2 separate regions of the Homo sapiens genome follow, and region 1 is linked to region 2. The links are contacts of gene promoters, found by promoter capture Hi-C in blood cells and fetal thymus (Javierre and others, 2016). All regions are on one chromosome and are shown on one strand. The core of a region is centred on a gene start or on the middle of the fragment in contact, and the rest is flanking DNA. Distances in the headings are between cores, read along the strand shown. Region 1 overlaps SLC9A8 (solute carrier family 9 member A8). Region 2 holds the start of KCNB1 (potassium voltage-gated channel subfamily B member 1).

Region 1 (3,959 bases), core at 650-3,149, 390 kb before region 2:
CGTTTAAGAAAGCAAATGCAGCAAAAGCGTTCAGCCTCCTGAAGGAAGAATGGCAGAAAAGAAAGGGAGAGAGGAAATCCACTTCTGTTTATGGTTACATCCACTGTTCTAGATGTAATAAAGGAAGACAGTATGGGATTCAAGTCCAAAAGGCAGTGAAAAGGTATCATGGTACAATTTACACTGTACCGTGCCTTACTGTATGTAAAATATAACATACTTCTTGAGGGCTGAGTGAAACCGTAATGAGTACGCTGTGTTAATTACTCAATAATAAACATATTTTGCCATAAAACATTCAGACTCACTGAGGTACAGAGTAAAAGACAATCTATTCATACTGCCCGCTCAGACGTAACTACTCTTAACTACTATTAACACTTCAATATGCAGACTGCCAGTTCTTTTACCATGTGATTATAAAGTTTATCTTTAAAGTAATAGGCTTGGCATGGTGGCTCACACTTGTAATCCCAGGACTTTGGGAGGCCAAAGTGGGTGGATTGCTTGAGCCCAGGAGTTTGAGACCAGCCTGAACAACAGAGTGAGACTGGCTCTACAAAAAATACAAAACTAGTTGGGTGTGGTAGCACGTGCCTATAGTCCCAGCTACTCAGGAGGCTGAGGTGGAAGGATCACCTAAACCTGGGGAGGTCAAGGCTGCAGTGAGACGTGATTGTGCCACTGCACTCCAGCCTGGGTAACAGAGCATGATCCTGTCTCAAAAAATAAAATTAAAATAAAATAAAACTAAAGTAATAAACAGGATCCTATCACATATATGGTGCCTATTACCAGCAGAGTGATTTTTTTTCAAGGGCTTCCAACTCTCTTGTCGTGGTGCATATACTAGAAACCCAGCTCCTTCTCAGGCCTGCAGAACCTGTGAGGCAGCGTCCTGGCCACACTGGTCTTCCTTCTCTTCCTGGAGCATGCCACACTCCCGCACATCTATCTTCAGACCCCTGGCTCCTGCAGTTCCTGCTGCCAAAACCCTCCTTCCCTAGAGCGTCCCTGGGCTGGCTCCTCTCGCCACACAGGTCTGGGCTCCAGTGCCACCTCCAGGGGAGACCTCCCTGACTGCCTGAGATCCCATCCATTCTCTACCACATGCCACTCTCTGTCACATGGCTTTAATTTCTCTTCTTGTCATTTCTTGCCACCTGGAATTGTTGTATGGGTTTGCTTAAATTCTGGCTTTCTTCTGCAAGAAAAGGAAACTGATCTTGTGTTGTTTATAAATGTAGCCCCAACAGCAAGGATAGTTCTCAGCATAGGGTGGACATTTAATAAGTATTTCTTGAATGGGCGAGAGTTTGATTTTTCAACTTACTTTTAAAAAATTTAACAATATGTCAAATTCTTTCCATGGCAGTACAGACAGGTCAAGTTCATTTTTTAAGTAGCTGCACAGGATTCCATAGTGCAAATGGACTGGAATTTGATCTTTTCCATTACTGATGAACATATAGTTCCTTCCAGTTTTTCTCTCCCAAGCAGTGCTGCAATGGAATTCCTTAGATATCTGTGCAGAAGAGCACTGCACCATACATTCTATCTTTGGCCAACTTCATGCCAGTATCTTTTTATTTTTATTTTATTTTTTTTTTTGAGATGGAGTCTTGCTCTGTCGCCAGGCTAGAGTGCAGTGGCAGGATCTCGGCTCACTGCAACCTCTGCTTCCCTGGTTCAAGCAATTCTCCTGCCTCAGCCTGCCGAGTAGCTGGGACTACCAGCACGTGCCACCATGCCCAGATAATATTTTGTATTTTTAGTAGAGATGGGGTTTCACCATATTAGCCAGAATGGTTTTGATCTCTTGACCTCGTGATCCACCTGCCTTGGCCTCCCAAAGTGCTGGGATTATAGGTGTGAGCCACTGCGCCTGGCCCATGCCAACATCTTAAGAAAGTGTTATGTTGGCCGGGCGCGGTGGCTCACGCCTGTAATCCCAGCACTTTGGGAGGCCGAGGCGGACAGATCACGAGGTCAGGAGTTCAAGATCAGCCTGGCCAAGATGGTGAAACCCTGTCTCTACTAAAAATACAAAAAAAAAATTAGTCGGGCGTGGTGGTGGGCACCTGTAATCCCAGCTACTCGGAAGGCTGAGGCAGAGAATTGCTTGAACCTGGGAGGCAGAGGTCGCAGTGAGCCGAGATGGCACCACTGCACTCCAGACTGGGCTACAGAGCGAAACTCTGCCTCAAAAAGAAAGAAAGAAAGAAAGAAAGTGTTATCTCATGATTAATCTTGCAAACTCATCCTTCAAGCCCAAAGTCCCCTCCTCTGTGACTCACCTTGACAGAGTGTCACTCTCTCCCATCCCCTGCAAGCCCAGTGTTCGCTAACTGCTCTGCCTAAGTGGGGTCTATTCATCTTTGAATCTTTAGTGTCAGAGGCCAAAGTGGCCCTCAAAACTGGCTTGACTGAACAATAAAAATAGTTAACATGGATACAGTCAGAACAAATATTCTGAGAATAGCTAACGCTTGCTGAGTTATAATTAGGGAGACTGTTTGATTTGCTGTGGATACCAGGACATTTTTTAGAATAAACGGGGATATTATTAATTCATCATATTGAGACAGAGGGCAAACCAGGACTTCTGGCCACCCCAGCAGTGGCACAGATGCCCCATCAGGACTCTCACTTGCATCGCTCCCCACTCCTCAGCAAAGGCGTCAGGCTGGCCCTTTTGTCTATTTTATAATGAGGAAGTAGAGCATGGGGTGGTTAAGTCTGTAATCTGAGGTTACACAGCCAATAAGAGGTGGAGCTGGGATTCAAATCCAAGTCTGTCTGTTATCCAGCCCCAGTCCTTAGCAACTGTGTTCCCTACATGTGGATTTAGGTAAATAATTCCCACTTCCTAGGAAGAGAATGTCCTGCTCCATGGTCTTGGGAACCACTTGAGATCAGTCCTTTGTGATAGTCAGGAAAAGGGGAGCACACAAAGGAAGGTGAAGACAGCAGAAACCACCCTTTCCATCTGTGCTTTCACAGTGCAATGTGGGGCGTCCACACACCACACAGGGCCATCCTGCCCCTCTCTGAAAACCCTGCGTGACAAATACCCAAAAGGCAAAGTGCGGACAGAGCAGGTTCCCTCACCCAGAGGCAGATCTGGTGTTCCTGGCTTGCACTGCTGTGTGTGGAGCAAGGTCCCTAAGGAAATGAAACCCCTCTCAACAGGAAACACTGCCAGTCTGAAAAGAAGGTAAGAAAAACACTCCCTTATTTTAATCACAGATTCCAAACAGATGCATGAAACACATCTTTGCCAACAGGTACTCAATGATCTTCTCAAGGGGGTAGAGGAACAATTTAGAAAAACAGATGTAAAAATAGCTAGGCTAGAGCCGAATGACTCACAGGTAACGTTTTTGTAAGTGCCAACATTCAGTAAAGAAAGGGAACCTCATGGCAGACACCAGGATGGAATTACCCTGGTGAACTGGTCTGCGATGAAAAACAAAACCCTGAAAATGGTGAGTCCACTCTGCTTCCTCCTTGTGCTGCTCATGCAGCACCCAAGTGTGACTCCGGATAGCGACTGGGTAGAAAAGTTCTGTCAACTGAGTCACTAGAGACCACTGGGCCTTCAGCTTTGCGTCTGAAGAAATTACTGCTACACAGAACACTGTCCTGCTCTACATAACTAGAAAACCTGATACAAGATATGAAACAAAACTATTTTCTGACATGGGACAAAAGATAGGGTAGGACTGTGATTCCTGCCGGAAGGGAGACAAAGGTGGCCACTCTTTCCCTAGGCCCCCTGCTGAGCTGACTGCCTGAGGCTGAGGCTTTAAGAGGGCTGTCCTGTTGAGTCGGGGAAGCTGCACAGAAAGAGAGCTCTTGGACATCTACTGTAAAGTCCCCTTGAGTCTTTGACTGATACTGATCAGTAAATATGTCGGATGAAACAAGAAGCTGGGGAAAGAACCATTAAAAAGAAG
Region 2 (4,124 bases), core at 114-2,613:
CCCCGGGACCGCCGCTGCCCACGGGCGGGGGCGCCCGGGCGGCCGGGACGATGCGCGGTCCCTGGCCCCAGGAGGCGGCCGCCCTGGGGGTGAGTGTTGGGGCGTACGGCCTTCCGTGGGGGTGCATGGGGACACGGACAGGGGGTTTGCCTGCCGCAGCTCGGCCTGTTGGTCTGCTCGGGCTCCGCAGCTCCAGGCTGGAGGGGAGCGGGGTGGGAGGCAGGCAAGGGCTGAGGCCTGAGGGGACGCGCAATCCCCATTCTGGGGCTAAGGCGTGAGCCCTACATGCAGGGGGTGCTCAGGGGAACCCCCCGAAATCACTAGTGCGCGGTAGGAGGATGGCACCTTTTGAAAAGGCCAGAAAATTTAGCTCATTTCCCCGCCTCCCACCTCCCCCACCCCTTCCCTTCCAAGCCCGGGGAAAGGCGCAGAACCCGGAGTTATAAAAAGCCATCGCGGGAGAGGAACGAGGAGGAGGAGTAGGAGGAGGAGGAGGAGGAGGAGGAAGAGGAGGAGGAGGGGGAGAAGGAAGAGGAGGGGGAGGAGAAGGAGGAGAAGGGGGCGGGGAAGGAGCGAGGGGAGGACGGAGCAGGCGGATCCCGAGGACTCTGCCCGCCCCTCCTGCGGTAGGGTTGGGGGCTCAGAGGGAGAGGCGAGAGCGGGCTTTTCCTCCTCGCGGCTCACCTTGTCGCTGGAGCAATCTCAGGAGATGCTCCAGTGTTTGGGAAGAGGGGTCGCTCCAGGACAGAGGGGCTGTTGTGCACACCCCGTCTGTTGTGACCTCGGACAGGTGGGCACCTGGAACCCCCGGAATTCCCCCAAATCTTTTAAGATTTGGAAAAAAGCCCGCTGCCATTCCCCCACCCCCAAAATCTTGATTATCTCGAGAAGGGGAAGGAAAAGAAGAGAACTCGTTAAAAAAAAAAAAAAGAAGGAAAGAAGAAGAAGAAAGAAAGAAAAAGATAAAGAAAGAAAGTTTTCATGCAGCTCCCCCTCTCTCCCCATGGCGGGGCCAGGTTCGGGACTCGATCGGGAGACCCATAATGAAGAGAGTTTCAGCACTCTAAGGGGCGGACAGCGCCCCGGGCGGCTGGGTCGCGCCTGGGCCGCAGAAGCCCAGGGTGGGGCCTCCCGGGCTCCAGGGGCATCTCTTGGGGCCCTCTCCCCGCCCCGAGGGGCGGCCCCTCCCTCCATCCATGGGGTGCGGCGGACTTCAGCACCGGCGGGAGGGACAGCGACCATCCGTCCTACCCCACTGAGCCGCTTAAGCGCGGGGGAAGGTCAAGGCCGGCTGGGAGCCTGGTGGAGAGGTGGGGGGCGGGGGGACAGCATGCCCAGCTCCCCGTTTGCTGACCCGCGTCCGCTTTCGCTTTCTGCCTCGCAGCCGTCGGGATGGAGGTGAGAAGACGGCCGTGACGCGCGCCCGCGGGGCCCCCTGCACCCCCAGCAGCCCACAGCGCTCCCTGCCCCCCTCCCCCGCAGCAGCGGGCCTTGCCGTCGAGTGACAGCGGCCTGGGGGGGCAGGGGGGGCGGGGGCGGCCGGATCAGCGATGCCGGCGGGCATGACGAAGCATGGCTCCCGCTCCACCAGCTCGCTGCCGCCCGAGCCCATGGAGATCGTGCGCAGCAAGGCGTGCTCTCGGCGGGTCCGCCTCAACGTCGGGGGGCTGGCGCACGAGGTACTCTGGCGTACCCTGGACCGCCTGCCCCGCACGCGGCTGGGCAAGCTCCGCGACTGCAACACGCACGACTCGCTGCTCGAGGTGTGCGATGACTACAGCCTCGACGACAACGAGTACTTCTTTGACCGCCACCCGGGCGCCTTCACCTCCATCCTCAACTTCTACCGCACTGGGCGACTGCACATGATGGAGGAGATGTGCGCGCTCAGCTTCAGCCAAGAGCTCGACTACTGGGGCATCGACGAGATCTACCTGGAGTCCTGCTGCCAGGCCCGCTACCACCAGAAGAAAGAGCAGATGAACGAGGAGCTCAAGCGTGAGGCCGAGACCCTACGGGAGCGGGAAGGCGAGGAGTTCGATAACACGTGCTGCGCAGAGAAGAGGAAAAAACTCTGGGACCTACTGGAGAAGCCCAATTCCTCTGTGGCTGCCAAGGTGAGTCTGGGATCTGGGGGCTGCTGGTCTGGGGGGATCTGCTTGCATCCCCATATTGAGGACCACTGCTGGAGGACTCTGGCTTTGTTCCCAACGATGAAGATTAGTAATGGGGAGGGGCTAGGACTGAGTCCCCAGAGGTGAGGACCAACCCCCTCAGACTTTTCCCATGTGGCACTGGTCACTCCATCTTTTTATTATCCAAGACGTTATACCCCTACTTGGTTGGAGAGGTTTCACAGGGACCCATAAAAAGCCACAGCAAGAAGATGGACACTGACGAATAAGAGAGAGAGCACAGAGAGACAACAGTGGCTTGCTGGGGTGGAGTAGGGTTTGCTTCCCTGTGAAGTCCCAGACCTAGGCTGGATTGGATCACCCTGTGATTTTAATATCTCCATATTTATAACCTCACTCTGCCCCAGCAAGGGAAAAAAGCAGCTTACAGACATGCTTACAGGACATTGAGATACTGTCAGATAGTTTAAACATAAGTAAGAAGGGACCCCGAGGGGTGGGTGTGGACCCACACGACACATGCAGTTGGTTGTGGATGCTTGCGGGTGAGGGGTCACCCCCTGGTTACTTATTTATTTGGTGAGTTTATTTCCAGAATGGTTTGGTGCAGCTTGTAAAGATGTTTCAGCTCTTGGAACAAGATGTAAATTTCAAAATAGGAGAGAAAAATGAGGCAATGTGAAAAATAAAGGAGGAGGAGGAGGAGGAGGCAGGAATGAGTTTGAACACAAAGAGTGGGCCAGAGAGTCTTTGGTGCTGCTGGGTAATGGCAGGGGCTGTAGGGGACTGAGGAAGGCTTGGGGTGGGAGCCAAGGCAGGGCAGGAGGGCACTGGTTGATCAGCAACTTCTCTACGTCAGGCTGGGATTTGGGGTTGCCTGGGAAAGATGGGGCCTGTCTTCATGTGCCCGAAGTGCTGGGTGCTGGGAGCAAATGACAAAACAGTGTGTGCAAGGCTATAAAAGAGGTTCTGTGAGGTTCACGGAGAACCCAGAAAAGAGAGATGTTGATGTTGAAATCCAGCAAGACCAACTTGGGAAACATGGGGAGAATGTAACTGAGTGTGGGGCCTAAAAAAAGGGGTCAGGTAAGTAGATTTGTGGTAAAAGAAAGAGGAGAGGAGGAAGCCTAAATATCCAGCCATATCTTACTAGCTAGGGCTGACTCCTGTCCAGCCCAGCCTTTCATTGTGGGGTCTCCGGCTCAGTTCTCACTGAAGGCCCACCTGCAGGTCCCAGTCTGAAGGGAGACTCCGTGGGGTCCTTCCTCCAGATCTAGCCACCCAAGGAGAGGCCCCTGAGAGTGGATGGAGAAGGGGTGGCTGGTAAGAGGGTGGAGGGAGCCCCCACGTGTTTTTTTCGTTTCCCTGTTGGCCCTAACAAGGATGTAGAGGCTCCTGGGCCTGGCTTCCTCCTCTGAGGCTGTGGGCTGTCTCTCTCCATAATCCCGCCCCCAATTTTGTGTCCAAAAAGCCTCCTCCTAAGACAGAGTCACTCACCCTTAATCAGCTTAGGATCAACAGACTTATTTTGCTATTTCCAGGCATGACACAGGTTCTCCCACTGCACATCCCATTTAGGCCCAAATGTGACTCTCCCTCCCTGTCCCATCCCTAAGACATGAGAACAAGGTACAGGGAACTGGACAATTTGCCCTCCCAGAGAAGAAGCAGGCACAGGGCCATGTTTTGGTCTGGCAGCAAGACCCAAGCACCGGGGCTTGCAAGAGGTGCTGTTTGGGAATAAAGAACCTCTCCTCTCCCTTGGGTTAATCCGCTAGCAGGGACAGCCTTGTGACCTCTCCATGATCCCAGTCTGGGGCTGCCAGCTCACATTCCTGGCAGATGGACCATCTAGGATTTTCTGTAGCCAGAGCTGAAATGGGGAGGGAGGCAGGCTCACTGGCCCTCAGAATAGAAATCCTGGCTGCCAATGATCAAACACCTACTGTGTATGGAGTGTAACAACGCAGCTCTGTTATTATCCCACCT

What was found. Contacts are between HindIII fragments. The CHiCAGO score rates a contact against its expected background, and 5 or more counts as called.
Region 1: a fragment that was not itself captured here is called in contact with the fragment with the promoter of KCNB1 in region 2 in 1 of 17 cell types (endothelial precursors); the score reaches 5.2 in endothelial precursors.

The regions. Positions count from the first base shown.
Region 1 is chr20:49,867,484-49,871,442 of GRCh38, reverse strand. All of the region lies in intron 10 of SLC9A8 (solute carrier family 9 member A8), which reads right to left. Among named protein-coding and RNA genes, the nearest start is that of MIR12122, 5.6 kb to the right of the region's middle. RefSeq lists enhancers at 3,294-3,343, 3,584-3,693. The HindIII fragment of the contact is 5,734 bases long and covers 1-3,959 here.
Region 2 is chr20:49,479,907-49,484,030 of GRCh38, reverse strand. It overlaps KCNB1 (potassium voltage-gated channel subfamily B member 1), which reads left to right and starts at 1,363. Exons shown (of 2, transcript NM_004975.4): 1 at 1,363-2,117. The coding sequence starts at 1,551. The HindIII fragment of the contact is 15,223 bases long and covers 1-4,124 here.